Linked DNA regions of Homo sapiens: regions 1, 2, 3, 5 and 6 are each linked to region 4. Evidence: promoter capture Hi-C in human tissues and cell types (Jung and others, 2019). All regions are on one chromosome and are shown on one strand. Each heading gives the region's core, a stretch centred on a gene start or on the middle of the fragment in contact. The rest is flanking DNA. Distances are from core to core; before and after follow the strand shown.

What was found. Contacts are between HindIII fragments. The study calls those that stand out against the background at their distance.
Region 1: a fragment that was not itself captured here is called in contact with the fragment with the promoter of CDH22 in region 4 in 1 of the 25 tissues and cell types used here (adrenal gland).
Region 2: a fragment that was not itself captured here is called in contact with the fragment with the promoter of CDH22 in region 4 in 7 of the 25 tissues and cell types used here (H1 embryonic stem cells, bladder, dorsolateral prefrontal cortex and 4 more).
Region 3: a contact is called between a fragment that was not itself captured here and the fragment with the promoter of CDH22 in region 4, in 2 of the 25 tissues and cell types used here (dorsolateral prefrontal cortex and spleen).
Region 5: a contact is called between a fragment that was not itself captured here and the fragment with the promoter of CDH22 in region 4, in 3 of the 25 tissues and cell types used here (dorsolateral prefrontal cortex, hippocampus and pancreas).
Region 6: a contact is called between a fragment that was not itself captured here and the fragment with the promoter of CDH22 in region 4, in 1 of the 25 tissues and cell types used here (dorsolateral prefrontal cortex).

Annotation. Positions count from the first base shown.
Region 1 is chr20:46,474,682-46,478,944 of GRCh38, reverse strand. It overlaps a transcript of ZNF334 not described here. Among named protein-coding and RNA genes, the nearest start is that of ZNF334, 37 kb to the left of the region's middle. The HindIII fragment of the contact is 5,642 bases long and covers 1-4,263 here.
Region 2 is chr20:46,108,781-46,113,336 of GRCh38, reverse strand. No RefSeq gene overlaps it. Among named protein-coding and RNA genes, the nearest start is that of CD40, 7.3 kb to the left of the region's middle. RefSeq lists an enhancer at 4,492-4,541. The HindIII fragment of the contact is 5,271 bases long and covers 1-4,556 here.
Region 3 is chr20:46,443,986-46,448,867 of GRCh38, reverse strand. LOC105372633 (a long non-coding RNA gene) reads right to left here. Exons shown (of 4, transcript NR_146919.1): 4 at 3,897-4,882. Among named protein-coding and RNA genes, the nearest start is that of ELMO2, 40 kb to the right of the region's middle. The HindIII fragment of the contact is 7,481 bases long and covers 1-4,882 here.
Region 4 is chr20:46,306,002-46,310,211 of GRCh38, reverse strand. CDH22 (cadherin 22) reads left to right here and starts at 1,714. Exons shown (of 12, transcript NM_021248.3): 1 at 1,714-1,957. The HindIII fragment of the contact is 29,361 bases long and covers 1-4,210 here.
Region 5 is chr20:46,125,493-46,129,966 of GRCh38, reverse strand. It overlaps CD40 (CD40 molecule), which reads right to left. Exons shown (of 9, transcript NM_001250.6): 6 at 3,266-3,327; 7 at 1,743-1,829; 8 at 1,609-1,637; 9 at 109-1,085. The coding sequence ends at 927. Among named protein-coding and RNA genes, the nearest start is that of CD40, 9.4 kb to the right of the region's middle. RefSeq lists an enhancer at 1-47. The HindIII fragment of the contact is 3,703 bases long and covers 279-3,981 here.
Region 6 is chr20:46,143,982-46,148,404 of GRCh38, reverse strand. No RefSeq gene overlaps it. Among named protein-coding and RNA genes, the nearest start is that of CD40, 28 kb to the right of the region's middle. The HindIII fragment of the contact is 4,601 bases long and covers 1-3,687 here.

The DNA of each region.
Region 1 (4,263 bases), core at 1,472-3,971, 170 kb before region 4:
TTGTAGGAGGACAGTGGGCCCAGATGCTCACTTGCATCCAAAGGCCAGGGGGACCAAATGACCCCAGCAGGGGATGCAGCAGGACTGAAGCCTAAACCAAAGACCCAACGGGGTGAAATGCCCCTACAGAAGCCAGCAGGGCCCAGCCACCAGCACCCAGACCTGACACATATTCCCTTGCTCCTTCATTTTTTGTTAAGTGTTCCCCTGCACAAAGACTATGTAAACCAAAAATAAAATTCTAAGCCCTCCAACCACTGCAATGGACCTCTCCTCTCAGCAAAGTAAATTCCGAAGTTAACCTGAAAAACTAGTTCAGGCCATGATGGGAAGTGGGGTCGGACATGCCTCATTATACCCTCCTCCCTTTTGAAATTACTGAGAGAACAGACTCTCTAAGTCTGATAAGAATAATTTATAATGTATTCTCTCTAAAGCCAGCTACCTGGAGACTTTGCCTGCATGATAAAAACTTGGTCTTCACAACCCCTTAGCCCAGACGTTCCTTTCCATTGATTCTAAGTCTTTAGGTAATAACTTAATCCTTTCAACCAATTGCCAGTCAGAAAGTATTTGAATCTGCTTATGACCTGGAAGCCCTTGCCTTCCAGTTGTCCCACCTTTCCAGACTGAACCAGTGTACATCTTTTTTGTACTGATTAATGTCTTTTGTGTCCCTAAAATGTATAAAACCAAGTTGTAGCCTGACCACCTTAGGCACATGTGTTTGGGATCTCCTGAAGGCTGTGTTGTGGGCCATTGGTCACTCATATTTGGCTCAGAATAAATCTCTTCAAATGTTTTACAGGGTTTGACTCTTTTCATTGACAACTATAATTCTGAGACAAAATCAGAGGAAAGGGAGAGAGAGTGCTTGAGAGGAGAGAATGTACCAGAGAGCACATGTGAATGTTGAAATCAGATAATTTAATTTCTCAATCAAATGACTATTTCAGAATAGTCTGTTTTAAACATGAAGATGTGAAATGACCTTGGAGTGGTATGATTATGTTTTCTACCATCATTTGTAGCCCAGTTATACCGAAAGATATTTACATTTTTGCATACACTGTGGCTATTTTAGCAAGCTGCAGGAAGATACTGAGTGCTAAGCATGTCCATATTCATGATCTCATTAACTGACACAGCCACCCTAGAGGGAATTATTCTATTGCAATCTTCTTATTTTGGGGTTGAGAAAAGGGAGGATTAGAAAAATAAGCAATTTTGCCCACAGTAACACAGCTGGTGAGGGATAGCACTGAGCTCCATCCTCAAATCCATCTAACTCTAAAAGACCAGGCTCTCGGCCAGCCATGGCGGCTCATACCTGTAATCCTAGCACTTTACAGGGCTGAGGCAGGAGGATTTCCTGAGGCCAGAAGTCTGAGACCATCCTGGGCAACATAGCAAGACCTTGTCTCTACAAACACTTTTAAAATTCCAGGTATGGTGGCATGTGCCTATAGTCCAGGCTACTTGGGAGGCTGAGGTGAGAAGATCACTTGAGCCCCACCATTTGAGGCAGCAGTGAGCTATGATCACATCACTGCACTCCAGCCTGGGCAATAAAGCAAGATCCTGTCACGTGAAAAAAAAAAACCAAAAAACAAAAAAACAGGCTGTTAGGCTCTTTGATGACATAAACCTAGCCAAAGTGTGGATTCCTAAAAAGGTGCCTTCCTCACCTGCTGCATTTACTTATCCAGCCTCATCAACCACCAATTCCCTGTACTCTCCTATTTTTCACATTTTAATCTGTGCAATTATCTTTGTGTTATTCTCTCTCCTAGACTCTGTTTATGGAAGCAGAAGCTGTACCTTTTATCTCTTTGTATTCAAAGCCTTTAGCTCTAGTGTCCAGCACTTAATATGCCGGAAAACAGGCATTATTTTGAGAGTCTCCTATCACGCATCCACTGTACCAGCATGAATTATTTTATTTCAGTATCTTGAAATCCCATCGGTGTATGGGATTATTTTATTATCTCATTTCAATGAGTAGAAAATGCAAACATTATTTTTCTAAGATCACATGGTGAGACCGTTTGAATCCTGATAGGATATATCCCAAAGTTGTCTGAACCCAGGACTGGACGTCTTAACATTGCCATAAAATTCTCCATCATTATAACTTATGGAAAGGCAGAAACCATGATAAATGCTTAATATAAACAAGCTTTATCAGCTTGGATAGTCGCCTAACCTTTATGTGACTCATCTTTAAAATGAAGGCATTGGGTTCTTTCACACTTTTTTGTCAGCAGCATAATACAAGTATATGGTTCTGCAGGTATAACCTGAGACTGCACATATAAAAAAGAAAGACATTAAATCTAACTTCTATTTTGTATAATTGACATTTGTATTGAGATAATTGTAGGTTGACATGCAGTTGCAAGAAAAAATAGAGCCCTCATATACCCTTTACCCAGTTTTGCCTAATGGTAACATCTTGCAAAATGATAGTACAATATCAAAACCAGGATATTGAGGTTGATAAAATTCTCCGATCTTATTCATATTTCCTTAGCTTTACTTCATTTGTATGTGTGTGTTAATTCTATACAGTTTTATCACATGTAGGTTCTAGTATTCACCACCATTGTCATGTTACAGAACACTGTCATCACCTCCAGGATCTCTGGTGTTACCCACATTAACTTCTTCAATAACCACACCCACTGCCTCCCCAGTCTCTCTCCTGTCCCAGGTAACTACTAATCTCTTCTCCATTTCTAAAATATTATCGTTTCAAGAATGTTATATAAATATTATCATGCAGTATATAACTTCTGGGATTGGTTTTTATCATCAACATAATTCCCTGGAGATTCATCCAAGTCACTATATGTATTGATAATTTGCTTCTTGTTATTGCTGAATAGTATTCCGTGGTATGGATGTATGCCATTTGTTTAAAAGGCATCTGAGCTGCTTCCTGTTTGGGGCTATTACAAATGAAGCTACTATGAAAATTAGTGTATAGGTTCTTGTGCTAACATATGTTTTTATTTTCTGGGATAAATGCCCATTAGTAAAATTGCCAGGTTGTAGAGGAATTGCACATAAGAAACTGCCAAACTATTTTCCAGAGTGATTGTACCATTTTACATTCCCACCAGCAATGTATGAGTGATCCAGTCTCACCACATCCTGGCCAGCATGTAGTGGTGTTACTGTTTTTTATTTTAGCCATTTTGATAGGCATGTAGTGATATCACACTGTGGTTTTAATTTGCATTTCCTTACTGGCTAATGATGTTGAACACTTTTCATGTGCTTATTTTCCATCTGTATATCCTTGTCATTGAAATGTCCTTTCATGTCTTTTTCCCACTTTCTAATTGGATTTTTTTTTCTTTTTTTGCTGTTGAGTTTCGAGAGGTCTTTGTATATATTAGATACCAACCCTTCGTCAAATGTGTAGTTTGTAAATACGTTCTCCCACTTTGTAGTTTGTCATTTCATTCTCTTCACTTGTCTTTCACAGAGCAAAAGTTTTTAATTTTGATGAGGTCTAATTTATAAATATCTTCTTTTATGGATCATGTTTTTGTTTCCAGTCTAAAGATTTTTATTTTTTCCTAAAAGTTTTATAGTTTTACATTTATGTCCATGATTCATTTTGAGTTCGTTTTTGTATAAAATTTGAGGTTTAAGTCAAGGTTTGGTTTTTTATGTCTATGGATGCCCAATTGCTCCAGCACCATTTGCTGAAAAGGTTAGTTTTTATTTTTAAAATGAATGATTTTGTGATTTACTCCATATTTATATTTTTCATAGAATAGTAATGGCTTTTATTATGTGACATTAAGTACAATTTATCCTCCAAGGAGATATGCCAAGTAAATCCTGTGGTTTCCTTTACTTGTTGGAATAGACCCACAGTTTCCTTAGGGCATGTAAATCACAGGGTGAGAATAAGTACTGGATGATACTGGAAGCTCCTGTCAACTTTGATAATCTATCTGTGCCTCTGTTTCTGTTCCTTTCTGTCCCTTCACCCCCTCTTCTCTTCTCTCTGTCTCTCTCACTAAACTACCATTTATTGATGGGGGTTATCATAGCTCCTAATTTAACCAAGGTGATAGAAGCTTATGCCAATTGGTGAAATTATTTGCACCCTGATTTGCCCCCAAAGAGCAATACATTATGCAATTATTGTATCTATTGAAGACTTTGTCTGTTTAGCATTTTGCTCTTTATACTTCACATACTTTACACTTAGTCTTAACAATAATTCTTTGTTCTAGATTTGCT
Region 2 (4,556 bases), core at 917-3,416, 200 kb after region 4:
GTTGGCTTTGGCTGTGGGCCAGCCATGTGGCTGATTCCTAAGGAACAAGGAATTTGCACTCAATCGCCTTTGGATCAGGCCATCCCTCACTTCTAACTTGAATTGTGGAGAGGAGGAACAGTGCCTCCTTTATCTTCTTAACCTAACACCCACACAGAGTCTGAACACCTGCCAGATGCTGAACAGGTATTTGTTGAATAAACGCAGAACTATAGAGTAATGAGGCTGAAGGGATCCCTCAGACCCACCTGCCCATTCCCACACCGTCCTGGGTAGCAGCCCATCTCCATAAGATGACAGGGCTCTCTAGCTGGGATTCCCAGGCCTAACTATGGACAAAAAGCTTTCCCTTTAGCTCACCAGTATCACGTGGGAATTTATCAAAGGGAACTAAGAAACTCAGAAAAGAACCCAAGCAGAAATTTGGAAAACCCAAGAGCCGGCAAAACAGATGCGAGAACAAAGCAGAGAATGTCTTGATCCTTATCTGGTTAAAGCCACTTACTCGGCTGATCTGATCCCCGCACAATGAGGCCTGGAGCCTGGTCCTCAGCCCTCCCAGACTCTGATGTTTGGAAGAAGAGATGCTTTGGTTGCAGGGGAAAGGATCCAAGTTTTTACTGTGACCTCAAGAGGCTGCGTGACCTGGCCATTGGCAACCTTGGTTCCCACCGCAGAGCTTTGGCTATGCTGCCCCCTCTGTCTAAAACGCCCCTCCTCCCACCTTTCATCTGCTGACTCTTCCTCACCATTCATGTCTCAGGGTAAGTGGCCCCTCCTCAGAGAGGCCTTCCCTGACCATCTTATCTAAAATGAGTTTCCTCTGCTACCCACCCACCTCCCCCGCCACTGTCCTCTCTTGTAGCACCTGTTCTAATCAGAGTTGTCCTTGCAAACAAGAGAAGATGTAGCAGTGAACTTAAATAAAAGAGGACACTATTGAAAGGGTGTTGGGCAGCCCAGAGAGCCGACAGGAAGGCTCAAGGGAGGCACCCAGGCAAAACCACAGGAGGCAGGGAATAGATGAGACTCTGCCACAGAAAAGTTCTATAAACCATCTCTGTGCCAGCCTACCTCCAAGACAGCCCTCAACAATCCCTACCTCCTGGTCTTCACACCCTTATGTAGTCCCCTTCCTTATTGTACCAGGGTTGGTCTGTGTGACCAACAGAAACCAGCAGAAGTGAGTGTAGGTCACATCAAGGTTAGGTTACAAACCCACTGAGGTCAGGTGCAGTGGCTCATGCCTGTAATTCCAACACTTTGGGAGGTCAAGAAAGGAAGGATCACTTAAAGCAAGGAGTTCTAGACCAGCTGAGCAACACAGCAATAATTCATCTCTACAAAAAAATTAAATAAAAATAAAAGGACTGAGGCTTCCATCTTATGTGTGCACTGTCTCACTCTTCTTTTTCTCTCTTCTCTCTCTTCTTTCTCTCTCCCTTCTCTGTCTCCTCTCTCTCTTCTCTCTCTCTTCTCTTTTCTCTTCTCTCTCTCCTTTCTCTGTCTTCTTTCTCTCTCTTCTCTCTCCTTTCTCTCTCTCCTTTCTCTTCTCTCTTTTCTTTCTCTCTTCTTTCTCTCTCTCCTTTCTCTCTTCTCTCTCTCCTTCTTCTTTCTCTCTCCTTTCTCTCTCTCTTCTCTTTCTCTCTCTTCTTTCTCTCTCCTTCTCTTCTCTCTCTCCTTTCTCTCTCTTCTCTCCTCTCTCTCTCTCTCTCTCCCCTCTCCCCCACCCCCTGCACTGTCTCCAGGCCCTCTGGGGAAGCAGCTGTCTGCCATGTCGTGAGGACACTCAGCACTCAGGCAGCCTATGGAGAAGTCCATATGGCAAGGATTCAAAGCTTCCAGCCCTCAGCCACATAGGAAGTGAAAGTGGAAGTGGAAGTGGAAGTGGACCCTCCCGCAGCAGTCAAGCCTCATATGACTTCAGCCCCAGCTGACACATTGATCCCAGTGGTGATCTAATCAGAACCACCCAGCTAAGTTGCTTCTGGATTCCTAACCCACAGAAACTGTGAGATAATAGATGTTTTCTTGTTTCAAGCCACTAAGTTTCAGGTCAACCTCTTACCCAGCAATAGATAATGAACACAATCTCTAACTACCCCTGAACTTGAGCATCACTCCTTCGAGGTTCAAAGTCTTGGGAAAGGAATCAGAGTGGCCACACTTGGCTTACAACGCACATTCTATGCCTCCTTGGCTTCCTTGTCAAGCCTCCTGCCCTCCTTCCCCTCAAGTAAGAAGGGTACACATCCTGAACATCCAGAACAATCCATCTGCCCTGCAATGTTCCCTCAGAACACTCGGCACAACTTGTTGTTCTCTATGCAGGATGACATTTTTCTCCTTTCCCCTTGCTCTTCCTAATTTTGGGCACACACCAAACGTAAGAACCAGAGAGGGCAGATAGTTTTTGGCCCAATAATGCAGGGAAAACATCCTCAAAGTTCTGATTGCCTTAAAAATGCCAGACCGTGAAGAAAGACCCATTAGAAGGCAACTTCTGCCCAGTGAATTAGCTGGGGAAAAGAAAAAAGCACTTTGAGAATCAGGATCTAGAGATACAATTCTGTATATTTTCATGCAGCCATAGCCCAGTGAGTAATCGAGACTTTCCCACTCAAGATAAATATGAAACAGGCGCTTTATTACAGACCAAAAAAATCCATGGTCCCATCTCATAATGAAATCAGCATTTTGGTTTGTACATTTGCGTGTGCCACCTTTTAATCCTTGCCTATAGGGACCTTCAGATTTTTCTTTCCAAGGGATATCATAAATAGATTATCTATTTTACATTTTCCTATAATATTAGACCACGTATATTATTTCCACCTTTATAAACTCCTATTTTTATTTTTTCTTTTCTTTTCCTATTTTTTTTATTGGAGACAGGGTCTCACTCTGTCACCCAGGCTGCAGTACAGTAGCACTATCATAACTCACTGCAGCCTCAAACCCCTGGACTCAAGTAATCCTCCCGCCTTGGCATGTATTTTTTTTTTCTTTATCTATCTTTACACCTCTCTCCCCATAATAGCCTGATAAATATCTGTCTACACATTTAAGAATATATTTGTTCATTTAATAAGAAAAGGAATCTCTATCTTTTTTTGCAGTCATTTTTGTCACTTAATAATATATCATGGAAATAATTCCAGGTTAGTAGATACAGATCGTACACATTCTTTCTTTAAAATAATTGTGTAAGATTCCATGGTGTGGACTTGTCACAATCAATTTAACCATTTTCCTGTTGATGTACATTCAGGTTGCATCCAGGTTCTCTCTACTGCAAAGCAGGCTGCAACAATGTTTTTACACGTATGGTTAGGCACGTGTGTTTTTATTTCTATACAATAGATTTCTAGAAGGAATTTGTGGGTATTTATATTGTAAATGCTAACAGATATTTTAAAGATACTTTCCAAAAACCTTGGGAAATTCATATGTTTGAAGGGACCTTTACTCTGCCTTCTCCCCAGTACTAAATGTTATCATTCATTTTAATATTTGACCATTTGATGGTGAAGAGAGAGATCTCTTTGCTGCATTTATTTACATTTCCTCAATTATTAGGGAAGTTGAGGATCCTATCAAATGTTTATCAACCATTTGGATATCCTCCTCTGTGAACTAACTGTATATATCCTTTGTCCATTTTCTATTAAATTGTCTGTTTCATATTAACTTTATTCAATCATGTAGTCACTCAACTAATATGCATTGAGCACTTACTAGGTCACGTGAACTAGACAAAATCCCAGCCCTGAATATTAACCCTTTACTCTGTCATCCATGTTGAAAATCAGCTCAGATGTCTAATTGTATCTCCAGTCTCTCCTCTACAGATAGGCTCTGGTACAGCAGTCCCCAACCTTTTTGGCACCAGGGGCCAGTTTTGTGGAAGACAATATTTCCACGGATAGAGGGGTTGGGAAGGATGGTTCCTGGTTTTGGATAAAACGGTTCCACCTCAGATCATCAGACATTAGATTCTCATAAAAAGCACGCAACCTAGATCCCTCACCTGCGCGGTTCACTATAGAGTTCGCAGTCTCATGAAAATCTAATGCCATCGCTGATCTGACAGGAGGCAGAGCTCAGCCTGTAATGCTCGCTAGCCAGCCGCTCACCTCCTGCTGGGCGCCCGGCTCCTAACAGGCCACGGACTGGTACCGGTCCACAGCCGGGGTGTTGGGGATCCCTGCTCTGGTAGATTGTAGTCATTATGCTTTCAGGTTTTATGATGTAAAAATACCTAATAATACCTAGTACTAGCACCGCTAGCCACTAATTGGTTAGAGCAGAAAGAGGACTTAATCCAATCCCCATGTAGCACCTTGTTGGTACTCCACCCTCAGGCCTTCCATATTCACTGTTCCCACTCTTCCTGTCCCCTATCTCAAGCACCTGTGACCTTCTGCCCCAGAGCCTTTTTTGGCCACAAGAGCATGTTTAGCCCTTCAGAGGGCAGGCCAGAAGGGCTGGAGATAATGCAGCCTTCTACCAATGACAGATGAGGAGTTGGTGGATCAATGCCGCAGCTGCCTTTC
Region 3 (4,882 bases), core at 976-3,475, 140 kb before region 4:
TGTAGGACATATGCACCTGACAATTAAGGAGATGGTTGTATGTAGGCTACTGCAATAGAGAGAATGTTCATTAATTAGAAACATGTTTAAAAAAGACTTGGGGTTTTATAACACAAGGGAGTCATTAAGGGAAGGGCGGTCTAAGCCATATAGGGAAGGCGTGTTTTTTGCAATTAACCATTTCCTGAAACACACAAGAGTGGAGCATTTCTTATCCATTCCTATTTTCCTGGAGCAAAGAGCTCAGGTAAAGTTGAATGTATCCATTCAAAAGAAGAAACAACACTGCACTCCAGCCTGGTGACAGAGCGAGACTCTGTCAAAAAAAAAAAAAAAAAAAAGAAAAGAAGAAGAAGAAGAAGAGGAAGAGGAAGAGGAAGAAAGAAGAGAAGAAAAAGAAACAAATGTCAGATAATCTCACCTCCCACAAATAATAACATTTAATATGGTTGTTTTTCAAATCTGGAATTATTAAAGAACTATGTCTTATGATTATCCCTTCACTCAGCAATATACTTTTATAATGTAACTGTCTCAAATGTCTGTAAGACTCAGGAAAATAAGCTCCCATTCAGAAGCACAGTAAACATAAATATATCTAGGATATAAACAGGCAATTTACAGAATGAGAACTCTCAAAAGCTAACACTCATATGAGAGGTGCTCACAAATGTTAATAATCCCAGAAATGCAAATTGATGCAAGAATGAGATATAATTTTACACCTATTATATTGGCAAATATTAGGAAGTTCAGTAAAACTGAGTGTTGCGGGGGTATGAGGGTACAGCAACCTCATGCACTGACCTCCTAATTGGACAAATTGAGGAATCCCACAGTGAGTACGGCTTAATGGAAGACAGGCTCCAGCTTCCACCAGGGATGCTGCAGAATGCTGTACATTTCCTTTCCACACCTGCTGACAGGCAGGGCTGGGCACACTCCCTGCGACTGGCCACTTAGGTGAGCCTCCCTAAGACTTTGAATCAGGGGCTAAAGGTACAAAGACCCGAGAAAAGTTAGCGATTCTTCTCAGAAGAAGCAATGGACTCCAGCGCCCAGCAGTATGACTTTGGGTGTCCAGTGGTGTTTGTGCCTGTGGCAGAGTCCTCCCAGGACTGCTTCCGTGCATGCCTTATCAGTGTTCTTCTCAGCTTGGAGACCCTGGGTCCCCATCCAGCAGTGCTTGGTTCTTTAGCTTTCAGGAAGATAGAGCAGACACGCTTCTCCCTATTCCTCCCAGTAAGGACAACTAAAAACTCTGAACATTTGGGAAACTTTCAGCCATTATTTCTTTGAATACCTTTTCAGCCTTGTCTTCTTTCTCTTCTCCTTCTGCAAGTTCGATGACACAAACACTGGACCCTGTGATAGTCTCACAGGTCCCTGAAGCTCCATTCATTTTTTTCCATTTATTTTCTCTCTGTTTTTCAGTCTGGGTGATTTCTCTAGTTATAGTTGTCAGTGCAGTGATTTTTTTTTCCTCTGTCTCCTCTATTGGCTATTGAGCCCATCCATTTATTTTGATTATTGTATTTTTTCAGTAGATTTAGTTTGTATGTAAAGCAAGTATAAAAATATTCTGAAAAGTTGAGAAAAGAAGGCAGACCAGCTAGGAAACTTGGGACCGCATAGTGCATTCTCCTGGCTTTCATTTTGCCTCATATATCCCAGACTTAGAACTGAAGAAGCTCGCGACCTGGAAATTCTAGTGTTTGAGATGGGGGGAAAAGCCCCATCAAAAGCCTACTCCCTCTATACAAAGCAAAAACAAAACAGAAAGCAGAAAATGGGCAGCCTTACGAGACAGAAAACCTTGAGACAATAACCTCTCTACTCCAGCCGAACACCACAGAAAGACTGTGGCCCTACCCACACTCACACAAGCAAAGGCAGAGGTGGAGATCCTAGAATTCCACCCACACCAGGCTGTAAAGAGGCACCCCAACTCTCCCCATGGGCTCCCTGCAATATCAGTGAAGACAGTGGGGGAGTCTGGACTTCCACTCCCATCCAGCAGTCATGAGGTGCCCCTCTCTGCTCTGCTGGGGCAGTGTACCAGAAAACCCAGAGGGGGATCAGGACTTTCACCACCAACTAGTGGTAATGAGGCCACCACCCCTTGTGTCAGTGGAGGCCCCTTGGGGAGCAGTCATGAGCCGCCCCACCCAACTGTCCCCCAAGTCAGGGAGGTCTTAGTAGAGGCCTAGGGAGAAGCTGGAATTCCCATTCCCACAACCAGTAATAAGGAGAGAAAAGAAAGAGGGTGAAACGGAATGAAACATCAAGGATGAAATGGGATATCACTACAGGCTCTGTGTACATCAGAAGGATAGTAGGGGAATACTACAAACAACTCTACCCACATAAATTTGACAGCTTAAATTAAACAGGCCAATTCCTCAAAAACTACAACTCACCCAGTATGAAATGGAATTTTAAAAGTTGAATTTGTAATTTTAAAACTAAAATTTAAAAACAGCTCCTAGACCAGGAGAGTTCACTGGACAATTCTACCAAAAGTTTAAAAAAGAATTAACACTAATTCTACAAAATCTCTTCCAGAAAATTGAAGATGAGAGTAGACTTTCCCATTTATTTTATGAAGCTAGTACTAAATCTGATACTCAAACCAAAAAAAAAAGATAGTACAAAAAACAAAAGACTAATATCATGAATATAGATGCAACATTTTTTTAAATTAGCAAGTAGAATTCAACAATGTAAAAAAAAGTATACACAATGACGAAGTTGAGGGCGGCTTGCCCTGGCCTGTAGGTGCCCCTTGCTGTGAGCAGCCTGGGTGCCATGTGCAGTGGCAGGAGGCAGATGGGCTCCTGGGCAGAAGGGGGCAGGTCCCCAGTGAGGCCCCACCTTCAGGCCAGGGAGGGCCTGAAGGCTGGCGTCGGGCTGCCAGCCCCACAGACCAGAGTGGGAGCTTGTGGTGCCTTTTCTGGGCCTGCCCATGGACCAGTTGGCATACACTTTCCCCCCTCTGAAGCCCATAATACCCCTGCGCTCAACCAGAGCTGAGCAGACATTAGGATGACCAACAGCAGAGAGGAGCTACCCACTCCAGGGCCTCCTCTCTGCTGAGAGCTGCAGAGACAATGTGACCACCTGCATGCAAAGAGGAGCTTCCCACTCCAGGGCCTCCTCTTTGCTAGGAGCTGAACACTCATCAGGACACCCTGGCTGTGGAAAGGAGCTACCCACTGCGGGTTTCCTCCAAACTGTTCTGTCGCTCAGTAAAGCTCCTTTTCATCTTGCTCACCCTCCACTTGTCTGGGTACCTCATTCTTCCTGGTTATAGGACAAGAACTTGGGACCCATTGAATGGTAGGGCTAAAAGAGCTGTAACACAAACAGGGTTGAAACATGCCCCTTGCTCACTACATTGAGGGTGAAGAGAAAGAAAGAATAGCTATGGCCCTTCGGGAAGCCCAGACCTGGGAGCTCCCCAAGCCAGGGCTATGACTCTTTCTTGGGAGCCCTGTGGTTCCTGGCATCTCCAAGCCTCCAGGCACCACTTTGTTCCCCAGTACCAGCTGTGGAAGCTGCGTGCAGTGTGCCTGGCTCAGCCACAGCCTCACAGAGGACTAGTGCCTGTGCCAGCACCTGGAGCTGCCCACCCCACTGCAGCAGCTGACATGTCTGACTGCACAGTGGCCAGACCCCACGCTCACTCACACACCCCTTGCCACTCCATGCCTGACTTGCCTTTGGCAGACATGGGGTCCAGGCTGGTAGCATGAGCTGAGCACAGCCTGCCAGGCCGAGTGGGCGGAATGAGCCCAGTGAGCCCAAACAAAACTTGGGCAAAGGCACCACTGGCCACAGAGGTTTCTGGCCAGAAAAGCAACACCCCAAAGATCTTGTAACACAGCGAAGCTTACTGCAGGAATGCAGGGCAGTTTTACTATTCACAAATCAGTCAACATAATCCAACATACTAACTGGATACAAAAGAAAATTGATCTTACCAATCAATACAGAAAAAGCATTTCACAAAATACCCATTCATGGTTTTAAAAATGCTCAGAAAAAGAGAAATAGAGGGAATTTGTCCTAACTTGTTAAAGAGCATCTATAACAACTCCACAGCCAGCATCATACTTAACAGTGAAAGACTGAATGGTTGTACCCCTGAGAAGAGGAAAAGGGCAAGGATGACTGCTCTTACCATTATTGTTAAACAGTGTTAGAAGTTCTACCCAATGCAATAAGGTAAGAAAAGGAAATAAAAGGCATACAGATCAGAAAGGTAGTAATAAAACTGTCCCTATTCGTGGATAACATGCTTATCAAAGTAGGAAATCTCAAAGATCTACCAAAAATAAAACAAAAAACAGAAACTCCTAGAGCTGATAAGTGACTTCAGCTAGACTGCAGGAATATGTTGTATTTCTTTATACCAGCAAGGAACACATGGGCACTGAAACTTAAAATACAGTAGCACTTACAATTTATCAAAAACCAAAGTACTTAAATTTAAATCCAACAAAACATGTATGGGGCTTGCATGCTGAGAACTACTCAGGTTTAAATTGTAAGAGATAAAACTTTCAGAAAAAAAAAACAGAAAATATTTGGGATCTAGATAGTGAGGCAAAGAACTACAAAATGCTGATGAAAGAAATTTCAAAAATCTAAAAAAATGGATGAACATACTTATTTATGGATTAGAAGACTTAATATGGTAAAGCTGTCAATTCTTCCCAAGTTGATATAAGGATTTAATGCAATTCTTATTGTTACAGGGTAACTGAGTTCTACTGTAACACCTAATTGGGAAAAAAGGCAAGCAGGTTTTATTCCTGGCCAGGAATGGAGGAGGGAGCTCTTTCTCTAAAGACTCCTTCTCCCTGAGATATGAGAAGCT
Region 4 (4,210 bases), core at 465-2,964:
CCAAAACAACCTGTGGACAACTAAGTAGGTCTGACTCCAGAGATGAACAGCACACACCAGAGCCTGGAGGAAGAGGCAAAGAAGGAATGGGAACTGGAGCAAACAGCAAAAGTGAGTCAGAGCGGGAGGAGAGAACCAAAAGTGAAGAGATGCACCTGGAAGGCTGGCCTCTGGTCTCTGAAAGCATGAAAGAGTGGAGGCTAAGAATAGAGAGGAGAGGGGAAGAGAGAGATGGAGAAAAGGAAGGCGATAGAAAGGCAAGGCTGGAAGAGATCAATGAAGGGAAATAAACCAAGAGAAGGACGTAGGGGAGGGAACAGACTGGCACAGTGGAGAATACATCTCAAAATAAATAAATGAATGATGGAGTTTAGTAGGAGGGGCCAGAGGGGCAGCCAGCAGGAGAGGTGATTCCAATCATCAGCAAGACGGACTAGGGTGTGGAGATGGAGATGGAAATTGGGGAAGGAGGCGAGGAGGAGAGAAGGATAGGGGCGAGGTAGAGCTGGGGGTCCTGGAGGGCCCTGCCCCCTCTTTGCCATGAACTTCAGCAGCTGCTTGTGGGTGATTAAATGGCTGGTCATTGGCAGCTTGGCGGGACAGAGGTCTGCAGCTGTCCAGTCTCCTGTTATCCTTCACTCACCTATCTGGAAGCCATGGGGAATAGGGGGGCGGGCAACTCCTAAGGGGACCTACAACCCAAGACAAAGGGTGGGTCTATGGGAGTCACTGGTCCTATCCTACCATCAACGACCTCATATTGGGAACTCAGGAGTGGGGTGGGAGGGTCTCCTCCATTAGGCCTCATCCCAGAGAGATGAAGTAGTAAGGAGAGCCAGGCAGCCAGGAGAAAGAAACAGGGCCAGGTGGAAAAAACATCAGGGAGCAGACCAGCCGGATTTTTAAAAGAACGGAAAACCCAACCAGCAAGGAGTTTCTGGGCAGTGGGAAGATTTTATTGGGAGACTTCTCCAGGTCAAGGTGGCACCAAGTTAAGGATGGAGGTGTCTTGTTTTGCCTGCTTACTTTGTTGGTTGCAAGGATGTCCAGCGGGACTCTCCAGAGGAAAAGCCCACAAGTTTCTCTCCCGGGGACACCCGACCTCCCACCTGCCTGGAGACTCAGCCCTGGGCACCTGGTCGGTGTCCACCTCAATGCACAGTGACTGTTTCTGAACTGGCAGATCTGGTCTGTGCAAGGTGCCTTTCTGGGCAGCAAGCCGGGGCGGCCACTGTTCGAGAAGCCTGCTCCTACCCTGGCCTGCGCCCCTGCTCCTCTGAAGGCGGCCTCCCGCAGTAGTCAGGGGGCGGAAATGGGAAGCCCTATTCGCAGTAAAATCAGGTGGGGAAATAGGCTCTGGTCTCAAACTGCGGCCACCTGGGGAGCTGCCAGGCGAGGAGGTAGATGGTCCCCCTCCTGGGGGCGCTCCCTTCGCGCGGATCTGGGGTTGGAGGAGGGAGGGGCACTGTCCCCTGGGGGGTTTCCTGGGACTGGGCCGCCCGAGAGAGGGAAAGGCTGTCCCCTCCTGGTGTAGGAGGGGCGCGATCCGGGGGGCGGGGGCTGGGGTTCCCCGGCTGCGGGGGTCCGGGCCGGCGGCCGCCTGCGGCTTGGCGCTGCGCGGCTCCTGCCCGGCGGGCCCTGCATTCTCCGAGTCTCCACCAGAGGCTGCGGGAGGAAGGAAGGGATCCGTCCCTTGCACACTTCCCCCCAGTCAGACACGCACACTCCCTCGCTCCCGCTCGCTCGCTCACTCCCTCGCTCTCTCGCTCTCTCGCTCTCTCGCTCACACACACGCGCGCACACGCCGCCGCGGCTCCCCCTCTCGCTCCCGCTCTCCCTCCGGCTCCTGCGGGCGGCCGCGGGGCTCCGGACTCGCCCGCTGCCCGCGCCGGGGCTCCCGCCCCACGCAGCGTCCCGAGGCGGCAGGACTAGGGGGAGCCCCGGGCCGCTCCCCGAGGTAAGAGCGCGGGGTGCCGCGGGAGGAGCGGCCGGATCGCCGCCGAGGGGAGGCTGCCCGGCAGGGAGGGAGCCCCCTGGCCGGCGGGAGCGGCCGGGCAGGCGGCGCGGGGGGCGAGCCTCCAGCCGCAGGAGGAGCCGGGGTGCCTGCGCCCGGCCCTGCGCGCCCCCTCCTCTCGGCCGGGAGGGCGGGGAGGGAGTTTCCCACGTCCAAACTTTCCCCGGCGCGGAGCCGAGCCGCCTCTCGGCCCGAAGCCCGCAGCTCCCACCCGTCCCCACAACCTCGTCCGCCGCGCGCCCGGGAGCCTCCGGGACCCCCGCGGGCCGAGGGGTGGCAGCGCCAGGGGCCGAGCCGGCGCGCCAAAAGGGGCTGGGAAGGTGGCGCACAGCCCTGACGCGAGGGCTGGGACCCAGGCGTTCCCGGTCCCCCAACCCTGCTAGCGGGGCTCGGCTCCCCGGCCCCTCCCAGAGGCGGGGTCCGGGGCCGGGAAAATACCGCACGGCGCGAGCGTGTGCGCGCGGTGTGTGTGTGCGAGGTCGTGCCGCGTCCGGGGACACCCGGAGGCTGACTCCAGCCGCGGCGACACGCACGGTTCTGGTCCCCTCTGAGCCGGGGAGGCGGCCCACAGGGACCCCTGCCGGCCCCACCGGCGCGACCCCCCCTGCCCTATGGCCGTCGGGCGGGCTGGCGGTGAGCGAGAGCCAGCGCTGCTCTCTTCCTTAGGACCCGACTCCGGAGACACCGTCCCCGCTGGGGAAGAAGGACGGGGCCCCCGACAGCCTAACGTCCAAAGAGAGCGCCACTTAGGGCTAACCCTCGGGGGCCGCGGCGTTTACTGTGAAGAGTGGACTGCGTGGGCGCGCGGGGTGCCGGGCAGCCCTGGGTGGGCACAGTGTGGACCCGTCTCGCTCGCGCCTCCCCGCTGCCTCTTCTCTGGCAACGTCGGGCCCTGTCCCAGGCGGGGCTGCAGAGGGTAGGGCTGATCCAGGATCCCCCGAGGTCTCCCCGAGGTGCAGGGCACCCCCTTGTGGCGGGCAGAGAAGCTGCTGTTTGAAGCTGCTCAGGTCTTCCGAGGTGCTCGCTCCTTGGAACCTCTTCTCTCCAAACCCTTCGGGCGTCGCCAGGGTTGCGCATGCCAGCTTCTTTTTCCGTGGGGCTGATTCCAGCACTCCCCAGGTTTCTGGGGCTGGCCGAGGTGCCCCCAGCACAGGCAGCGGCTCATTTGAGGGCTTTGGCTGTTGCCAGCTCTCTCTCCCTCTCCACCCAGGTTCAGGATCTCATCCTCTTCTCCCACTGGTCAGCGCCAATACCCTATATCAGCATCACCACTGCCCTAGGGCCCAAAGGCTCCTCCCTAACCACCGCGACTCTCTGTCCTTCATTTGTATCCCGTATATGTGTCCATCAGTGCCCACTCCGTCCCCCTCAGTTGCCCCTAGTCTACAGCCCTTGTTGAAACTTGGCCTCTACACCCATAGTGACATCCTTTGGTCTTTGCCCACCAATGACCATTTCCTCGTCCCCCCCAACCCCGACCCATCTTCTATCCTGTCTGCCTCAGTTTTTCTGTAGCACTCAACTGTTCCCTGCCCCAGCCATTTCTCTACTTCACCCTTATTTCCCTCCTTGTCCCAGTGTCTGGGACACTCCTCTTCCATTCCTCCTGGAAGGGAAGGGCATTGCCAACATTTAAACACTGCTTCCTGGAGATGTCTGTGTGCCCTTCCCGGTCCACCACTGCCAGTGCCTCGGGGGCAGGTACTTTATAAAGCCAGCCAGGTCTCTCTCAGCTAAGGGGCACCTGTACCTCTTGGGTGGCCCCATCAGGGGACCCCTGGAGACAACCCCTTTCCCTATTCCTAACTGTGAGCAGCACATTGGAGACCACCTGGGCTGCCCTCTTTTCCATTTTCAAGGATTGGCAACAGCAGCCCGAGGTCACATGGTAAGCTATACCCAGAGCCGGAATAGGAACCCAGGCATCTTGACATCCAGGCCTCACCAACGCTGCTTATGTGTTGGGTAGGCCTGGGGCAAAACAGAGCCGTTTCTTGGCTTCACGCTGCAGGCAGGACAAGAAGACACTTGCTCTAAATTCAGCATGAGGTGTTCAAGTTAGACCCCCAGTGCTCCCAGGCCAGTGCCGGAGGAAAGCTGTTGAATGCCTTTAGCAGAGACGCCGAGTAGCAGAAGCAGAGGACAAAGTTTGGCCCCTAAAAGTGTGTTGTGACCTCCGGGTGAGTCACAGCCTTT
Region 5 (4,474 bases), core at 881-3,380, 180 kb after region 4:
CAGCAGCCTGGGGACATTCTTATTTATCTACAGAAAATGCCCTCATTCCGTGAGCCTGACAGCAGGTTAAATAGCTCATGTCACCCAGCATGTTCACCCCCGTTTTTCTTTTTACATGTTTGATGATTTTTTAATTACATAAGCATTATGTGAATTCACTCTCCTTTTGGGAAAAATGATGAAGCATTATGGGAAAGCCAAATCTCCCTTTAACCAACCCTCCCCCAGACCCTTCTTCCCCACCCCAGACGTCACCACTCTTCGAGCTGTGGGTTTTCTGTGTACCCTTCCAGAACCCTTGTTATATCAATATATGATGCATATTGTATTTATACATATATCCATAGGCAATATACATACATAAAAGCATGTACTTTTTTAAAAAGTTCCATACCCATCATTCAGCAGCATGCCTTTTTTTCCTTACTCAACAGTGTTTTTGAGATTCTGTTGTATAAATATATTCTAATTTTATTTAGCCAGTCTCCTGCTGATGGACAGTTAAGCAGCTTCCAGTTGTTCACTATCACAAACAATGCTGCAATGGGCATCTGTGTATATGGCTTCCTGGGCGCAGGGAAGCCACCATGATGCCTCTCTGGGCACCAAACTGCTGGATCGGAAGGTCTGGTGGATATTACTAAACCATACCCCAACACCACCACCACCAAACTTCTGCCTCTGTCTTTAATACAAGTTGGGAGACTGGATGGGCTCCAGGGTGAAGTGAGAGGTTCTTCAAGGTGAACTGTTTCTGCATCCAGTGCCAGGTCTCCTGTCTCAAACTGCAGGGGTGCAGGCAGAAGCGGGGAGCTATGCCCAGTCAGTGCCAGCCCCTCACCCTCACGCCACAGCAGCAGCAGCACCAGGCTCTCTGGCCAACTGCCTGTTTGCCCACGTGGCCACACTCCTGGGTGGGTGCAGCCTCACTGTCTCTCCTGCACTGAGATGCGACTCTCTTTGCCATCCTCCTGGGTGACCGGTTGGCATCCATGTAAAGTCTCCTGCACTGGAGCAGCAGTGTTGGAGCCAGGAAGATCGTCGGGAAAATTGATCTCCTGGGGTTCCTGCTTGGGGTGGGGGGCCTGGAGAGGCAAGGTGTGAGGTCACCCCCAGCAGCAGGGGCAGCTGTGCCTCTGAGGAGCCCCTCCCTGGGAAGCGGATCCCTTCCCCAAGCCCTCCCCCCTTTCCCAGACGGCGGGTCAGTGCTGATTCCTCGGGTGCCTCCTGCCCCCTGCTGGCCACACCAAGGGCGACGAAGAGCTTCCAGAGTGGGAGCCAGTGGGCTTAAGGGGCTGCCACATTTGCTCCCACCCATTTGACCCAGCCCCAAGGCCCAAAGATGCAGCTCCCCACGCGTTGAATGCCAGGAAAGGAGTGAAGAACAGCCAGTGTTAGGCTCTGCCAGTGGTGCCAGGGGCAGTTCTGTGGGGGATTGAGCTCTGGATGGAAGGAGCATGGTGGGTGGGGATGACAGTCCCCAATTCTGCTGCCACCCCACTGGCTGCAGAGACAGACTCTGAATCAGTTTTACTGCCCCATAGGCAACCGTGAGGCCATCTTCCCAGTTTGTCAAAACTCTGTCCCGGGTTCTCAGGGGTGACCTACCTTATTGGTTGGCTTCTTGGCCACCTTTTCTAAAAAAAAAAAAAAAAAAAAAAAGGATGGGGAGTTGGAGAGGCCAGATAAGAAACAGGTGGTCTCCCCTCCCTCCCCCAACACCTCCCCACCTGAGGACTCACTGATAAAGACCAGCACCAAGAGGATGGCAAACAGGATCCCGAAGATGATGGGGATCACCACCAGGGCTCTCAGCCGATCCTGGGGACCTGGAGAAATCAGGACTTCAGCATGCACCCCTCACCTGCAGTTTCTCCCTACCCTCAACCTGCTGTGACTTGTCAGACTCCAGAATCTTCCAATGTCAGAGCTCATCTACATCAGAAGGTTCAAACCGCGGTCCTTGGGGAAATGTGGCTGGCAGATGTCTTTAAAGGAGCCAGAACATTTTCTTAACGTTTGGAAATATTTGCCGACATTTTTAAACTGGGAGATCACATATTCAAACCTAGACATCTGATTTCTCTTACAAACTGGGAAGACTGGGTTCCAGTTGGCAGCCTCCCCACCTGGGAACCATCTAGAAGCGAGTGGTGGCAGTGGCTGTCACCACCTGCTCACCATGCTCCCCGCCACTCCCTGCTCTCTGCCCAATGCCGAGGTCTAGCATGATTCATGTCTGCATGTTGCTTTTGGTATAGAAGAGTGGAGGGGAAAGGTAAAGTATTTCTCATGCCGAATTTTTTTTTCAAAGTGGGAAAATAAAAGAAAGACCAAAAGGCAGGGCGGAGACTAGCGTGAGGCAAGGGATGAAATTGTTTCAGGACAAAATTGAAAAGGATGTCCAAAACACTCAGTCATCAAGGTAAACATTCTTTTAATGCCATATTTTGAAAATCATCAGGCGGACACCAAGTCAGCAAACTACGGCCTGCAGGCTGGCTGCCTATTCCTTTTACTGGAACCAGGGCCAGGATTAGGGTGAGGTGAGTGAGGCAGGGTCATGCAAACACAGGGTCGGATCCTGTTCTTTATTTAAAATGTTGCTATCTTGCTCATCATGGATTTCTTTGCATTAATTTTTATTTTTAAAAATATTGCATCAAAATGAATTTACCTTGATTACTACACTTTTATGGCACCTTCTTAAATATTGCGCCCGAGGGCAAGTGCCTTGCTCACCTCATTCTAGTCCCAGCCCTACAAAGAGGAAAGTACATTTTGAGAAAAAGCAAAGAGAATGTATTTTTCGTTTTTTTAAATTTTATTATTATTATACTTTAAGCTTTAGGGTACATGTGCATAATGTGCAGGTTTGTTACATATGTATACATGTACCATGTTGGTGTGCTGCACCCATTAACTGGTCATTTAGCGTTAGGTAAAGAGAATGTAATTTTCTTACCCCTGACCTTTTTCACTGATTTACATTATCTGATCTTTACTGTAGGCCAACCTTCTCACTCTAAAATCAAAACCTACTAAGGAAGTGCTGTTATCATCCCATTTTACAGATGAAGAAACTGAGGCTAAGAGAGGGGAAGTGATTTGCCCAGACTCCCAAGATAAGTGGCAGAGCTGTGATACCACACCCCCAAACTGCCTCCCCTCCCCTTTTTCCCATCCAGTGTTCCTGTGTGCCTCATCTCCCCCTTCAGTTCCCACCTTCCTAGGCTTTCTCCAGGGCCCATTGTCCAGGACTCACCACAGACAACATCAGTCTTGTTTGTGCCTGCCTGTTGCACAACCAGGTCTTTGGTCTCACAGCTATGCACAGACACGTGCACAAATGCACACACACAGAGAAAGAAAGAGATATTAAGTTTCCCCAAGCATAAGATTTCCAACTCTAGAGTGAGTCAGTCAACAATCAACAAATCCAGGTTCACTGAGCACACAACACGTGCAACGTCCTATGCTGGTTATTATAGGAACGACACAGACTCTTCTTACAGAACTTAAAAGTGCAGAGAAAAGATTCTTGCACATCTTGAAGGAGTAATAAATAGGGGAGTCTATAATGAGTGCCAAGCTTTGTGATCTAGGTAGGCTAAAGTGAGATGGGAATGGTTCAGAGGAGACAGAATCCACCAAGGCTGGAATGGAGAGATGATGAGTTCAGCTTAAGATAGGGTTACTCAACGTCAGCACCAGTGACACTTGGGCTGGATCATTATTTACTGGGGGTGTGGGGGTGGGGGTGGGCTGTCCTATGCATTGCAGATGTTCAGCAGCATCCCTGGCCTCTATCCGCCAGATCCCTGTAGCATCCCCCTCTCCGTTTGTGACGAATGAAATGTGTCCAGACATTGGCAAACGTTCCACAGGGAGCAAAACTGCCCCCTGTTGAGAACCTCTGGTTTAAGGTTCTTCCAGAAAGACTTCCCTGAGGACATATGACCTGAGTGGGCCCTAAAGGATGTAAAATTTGGATCAGCAGTGCAGTCCCGCTAAGTGGGACGATGTGATGTGGGGAAATAAGGCAGGTGGCATGCAGGATGGTGTTAGGAAACTATGGAAAATTGTGTCTTTAGAACCAGATCACTGCCAAGTGTGAAGTTTTCAACTGGATTCAGCTGGTCAGTCTCATCAGCATCCAACCAGGCGACTTCACTAGTGAGAAGATTCAGCTGCCCAGAGAGCTCAGAGGAGGAGAAATTACAGAAGAGTGGCCAGCCAGGAGACACAGCAAACATATAGATATGAGATGATGAAGACCTGGTCCAGGTGGCCCCAGGAGGAGTGGGGCGGAATGGACACAGGACATTGCAAAGGAAAAATCATCTAAGGTGGGAGAAAGAGAGAGAAGCTTTGAAGAAACCATGTACTTTAGTCTTTTTTTTTTTTTTTTTTTTTTTTTGAGACAGAGTCTTGCTCTTTCGCCAGACTGGCTGGAATGCAGTGGCGCGATCTC
Region 6 (4,423 bases), core at 138-2,637, 160 kb after region 4:
GGCAGGAGGATCGCTTGAGGGCAGGCAGGAGGATCGCTTGAGGCCAGGAGTTTGAGACCAGCCTGCACAACACAGGGAGACTCTGTTACTACCAAAAAATAAAAATACAAAATTAGCCAGGCATGGTGGCCTGTGCCTATAGTCCCAGTTACTAGGGAGGCTAAGGCAGGAGGATCACCTGAGTCCAGGAGGTCAAGGCTGCAGTGAGCTATGATCACACCACTGCACTCCAGCCTGGGTGATACAGCAAGACCTGTCTTAAAAAAAAAAAAAAAAACTCTGTAATTTGGGAATGGGAGAAAAATACTCTCTGGTCCATTCTCTTCCCATTTTACCGGTGGAGAAACTGAAGCTCAGAGAGGGAGTGGACATGGATGGTGGTCACACAGGCAGGCGGGGTTCTCAGTCTCTGCTTCAGGGCTGAGCAATCCCAACTGACTGCCCCCGCAATCAGGCCTTCTGCAAGAGGCTGGAAGTTGCCCTTTCCTGCCTCTGCTTAAAGTCCTGCCATCCAGTGCCTTGCCCAGGAAATGGACATACACGGTAGGAAGCCTGGGTCCCTTGGCTCCAGGAATGGACTCTCAGGACATTGCCAGTGCCGGGCTTCTCTAGGGCTCCCCAGCTGGTCCTGGGAAGCTTGTCTCACTGTCCCAGGAGGGGACGATCGTACCAGAATTGACCTACTTTTCTCCCACAGCCAAGATGCCTCTCTCTGGCAACTTCACACTTTGGTTTACATACCTCCAGTGATGTAGAGATCGTTACCTTACCAGGCAATCATTCCGTTTCCCTATCTTGGACTTAAGACAACCCCAAATCTTCTGACTTCCAAGCTAAGACTCATTCATTCTAGAACCACACCCTGCCACCACAACTTTCTTTCAGCAAGGCCTGAGTATGTGTGAGCCTGCCTGTGTGTTGGTGGGTTTCTCTGTGTGTTCCGCACTGTGAGCTCTGAAGGGAGAGGAAATGAACTGGTAACAGTTCTGTATCCCCAGGACTCAGGGCCTGGCACACAGTAGGCACTCAAAAAAAAAAAAGAAACAGTCACACAATAGCTAACCTTTACTGAGCACTCCGTGTCAGGCATGAATTCCATGTGCTAATTTATTTAATCATTATAATAACCCTGGGATGCAGTTACCATTATCTCCAGTTTACAGAGAGGCAACCTGAGGCAGAGAGAGGTGAGATAACTTGCCCAAGGTCACACAGCCAAGACACGGTAAAGCCAGGATTTGAATGGTGAGAGTCCAGAGCGGTTATTCATACCTCCCAGGTGAAGATTATTTGGAATTAAAAAAGGGAAGGGGAAAAAGGAAGGGCAGACCCAGGTAAGTATCTCTGTCTCCCCCAAATAGCCCGGCTTCTGGAGGGCAGGAAACATATATTACTCATCTCTCTCTCTCCCAGAATCTAGTACAGTGCTTGGCAAACATTAGTGGCCAGTAAACAAGAAATGTTTATTGAATGAATGTTTAAGCCAGGCATGGTAGCTCACACTTGTAATCCCAGGACTTTGGGAGGCTGAGGCAGGAGGATTGCTTGCATCCAGGAGTTCGAGACCAGCCTGGGTAACATAGAGAGATCTTGTCTCTACAAAAAATGAAAAATTAGCCAGGCATGGTGATGCACACCAGTAATCCCAGCTCCTCAGGAGGCTGCTGGGGAGAGAGGGGTCTCAAGGCTGCAGCAAGTCGTAATCGTGCCACTGCACTCAGCCTGGGTGACACAGTGAGACCCTGTCCTCAAAAAAAAAAGAAAAGAAAAAAGAAAAAAAATCACACATGAATGTTTATACATCATAGGCATATTTTTCTCCCCCACTATCCCTAGAGCCCTTGAGGATCAGGAACTGAACTATCTTCATCTCTGTAGAGCTGCCACTAGCCCATTCTGTGTGAATTAGAAAAAGGTACCCCCTCTGGGCAGGCAAAATCCTGTGGATTCAGCTTGGCAAGCTAATGACCCGTTGCGCAAAGAAAATAAAAATCCCCCTTGCCTGGTGCCAGGGGTCCCAGGTTGACAGGGGGAGCCCCCACTCTCCTGCAGGTGCACCTTTGTGCAGCACACAACTTGAAAGGCTGTCCATGGAAATTCTGCTATGGCTTCCAGGGGCCCAGCACTAAGCCTGACCATGCAACAGGCATCGCGTTTGTTGAACGGCTGTTTGCAGTATTCACCTTTCTTCTACCCTATTTCACCCGCAGCCAGTCTGAGCCCCAAGAGAGTGATTGGTGGAAGAGCCACCAGCTGGGTATGATGTGGCCACAGTGCTGATGGGGGAGTTCGCAGACGTAAAAGGGGACAGGCAGGGTCAGGCATAATTGGTAAATATTTGTCTATCTAATCAGAGGGCCTTTTAATTAGCAATTTCATCCTTGCAACTGGTTTATTTTTTTTTCTTTCTGCGGGAAGTCAATTAAATGTAACAGATGGAGGAAAACATGGGGGTTTCCTTGTCTCCCACCATCTGTCCCATCCCATTCCACCCCCAGCTGTGCCCAAACCTCATTGGTGGGGCTGCCTGCCAGTTGCCAGAGAAGGGCAGTGCTAGGGGACATAAACAAAGGCAGGATTCCTGACCCCCGGGAAGCCCTCTTTGGTCTCTCTGGCCACCCTACACATGCAGGCTGATCCTGCCTGCACAGCCTATGACTCCAGGGTCCTAAGATCCTTTGCCAACAAGGTATCTCTTTCTGCCTGATCCAGTAGTATAGGGTCTGGTTGCCTTTATTTGAGCTCCCATGACAGGCCTGACAAGGGCCCGCATGCAGAAGAGACTCTTGTCTAGCTCAACAAACCTTTATTGAGGGTCTGCTTTCTGCCAGGCAATGTGTTGGGCGCTAGATACATAAATCAAATAGTCCCGGCCCTGCGGGAGTGTGTAACACATTGGGGAAGACGTTTTTCCATTCATTTATTCTTTCAATATTTATTAAACAGCATGTGCATCAAGCTCTGTGCTAGGCCCTGGGGACGCAATGATGAATCCAACAGGTCCCTGACTTTCAATAACTCAGTAAGCAGAGGACACAGGCCAGTAAAGTCATGCATTCAATACGTATTTATTGAGTGTCTGTGTGAGCCAGGCACTCTTCTGGCTGTTGGGGACACAGCAGTGAACAGCACAAAGTCCTTGTCCTTTCTAGTAGGGGGAAAGACAATCAACAGATGGATGTATAACGGCAGGGGTGATCCGTGATGTGAAGAAAAAATAGTCAAACAGCCATCATTTGGAGTTGTATGGAATCTTTTTTTTTTTTTTTTTTTTTTTTTTTTTGCGACAGAGTCTCACTCTGTTGCCCAGGCTGGAGTGCAGTGATGCAATCTCGGCTCACTGCAACCTCTGCCTCTGGAGTTGAAGCGATTCTCCTGCCTCAGCCTCCTGAGTAGCTGGGACTACAGGGGTGCGCCACCACACCCAGCTAGCGTTGTATGCAATCTAACTGAGCTCTGCAAGTATCCAGATTCCTTGGCATGGCCTATGAGGGCCCTGATCCCCAGGCTCCGGCTTTCTCTCTAGGACCGTTTCTCAGCACTCACCACCTTCTGGGCTGTGTTCCAGCCACACCCACCTTCTGAGGATTCCTCCAACTTGCTGCGCGCTGTCTTGAGGCTTTCGCCCAGACTGTTCCCTCCATCTGGGGCACTCCTCCCCTCTTCTTTGCCTGGCCAACTACTCAGCTGAAGCGTCCCTTTCTGGGGAAGCCTTCTCTGATCTCTCAGGCTGTGTTAGGTTCTTCTACTGCATTCCTGCAGCCCAGTGTGGGTGTGGCAGGTCCTCATCTGTCTCCTCACCCTGTCTGGGAGCCAGCCAAGGCCCCAGACCATATCTGTCTTAGTCCTCTGCACTGTCTCACCAGCACCAAGCTCAGTGCCTGGCACATGCCCCATCCCCTATCAAGCCCACCTATATTGACTTGGGTTCAACCAGATGAAGAAAAGGAGAAGGGACATCCCAGGGAGGGCCCAAAATTTGCAAAGACAAAGCAGCTTGAAAGATTCCTAAGTGTTCCAGAAATAGGGATAAGGTCAACATAGTCATTTTAAAAAGGGCAGCACACGAAGCTAGAGTTAAGCATAGGTCTTCAATGTTAAACTAGGATGTCTGCAGTTTATCCTTATAAGCCTACAAACCAACTTCAGTCATTCACATGAGTCTTCTATGACTTTGCCAAAGATCCATGTGTCCCTGTACTGGGGCTGTTGGCCTTTTTCTTTAAATTATCATTTTTCTTCACTTTATTTTTATAACAGCTTTATTGAGATATAATTCACATAGTATAAAATTCACCCTTTTTTTATTGAGACAGGGTCTCACTCTGTCACCCAGGCTGGAGTGCAGTAGTACAATCATGGCTTACTACAGCCTTGGCCTCCTGGGCTCAAGTGATCCTCCTGCCTCAGTCTTCCAAGTAGC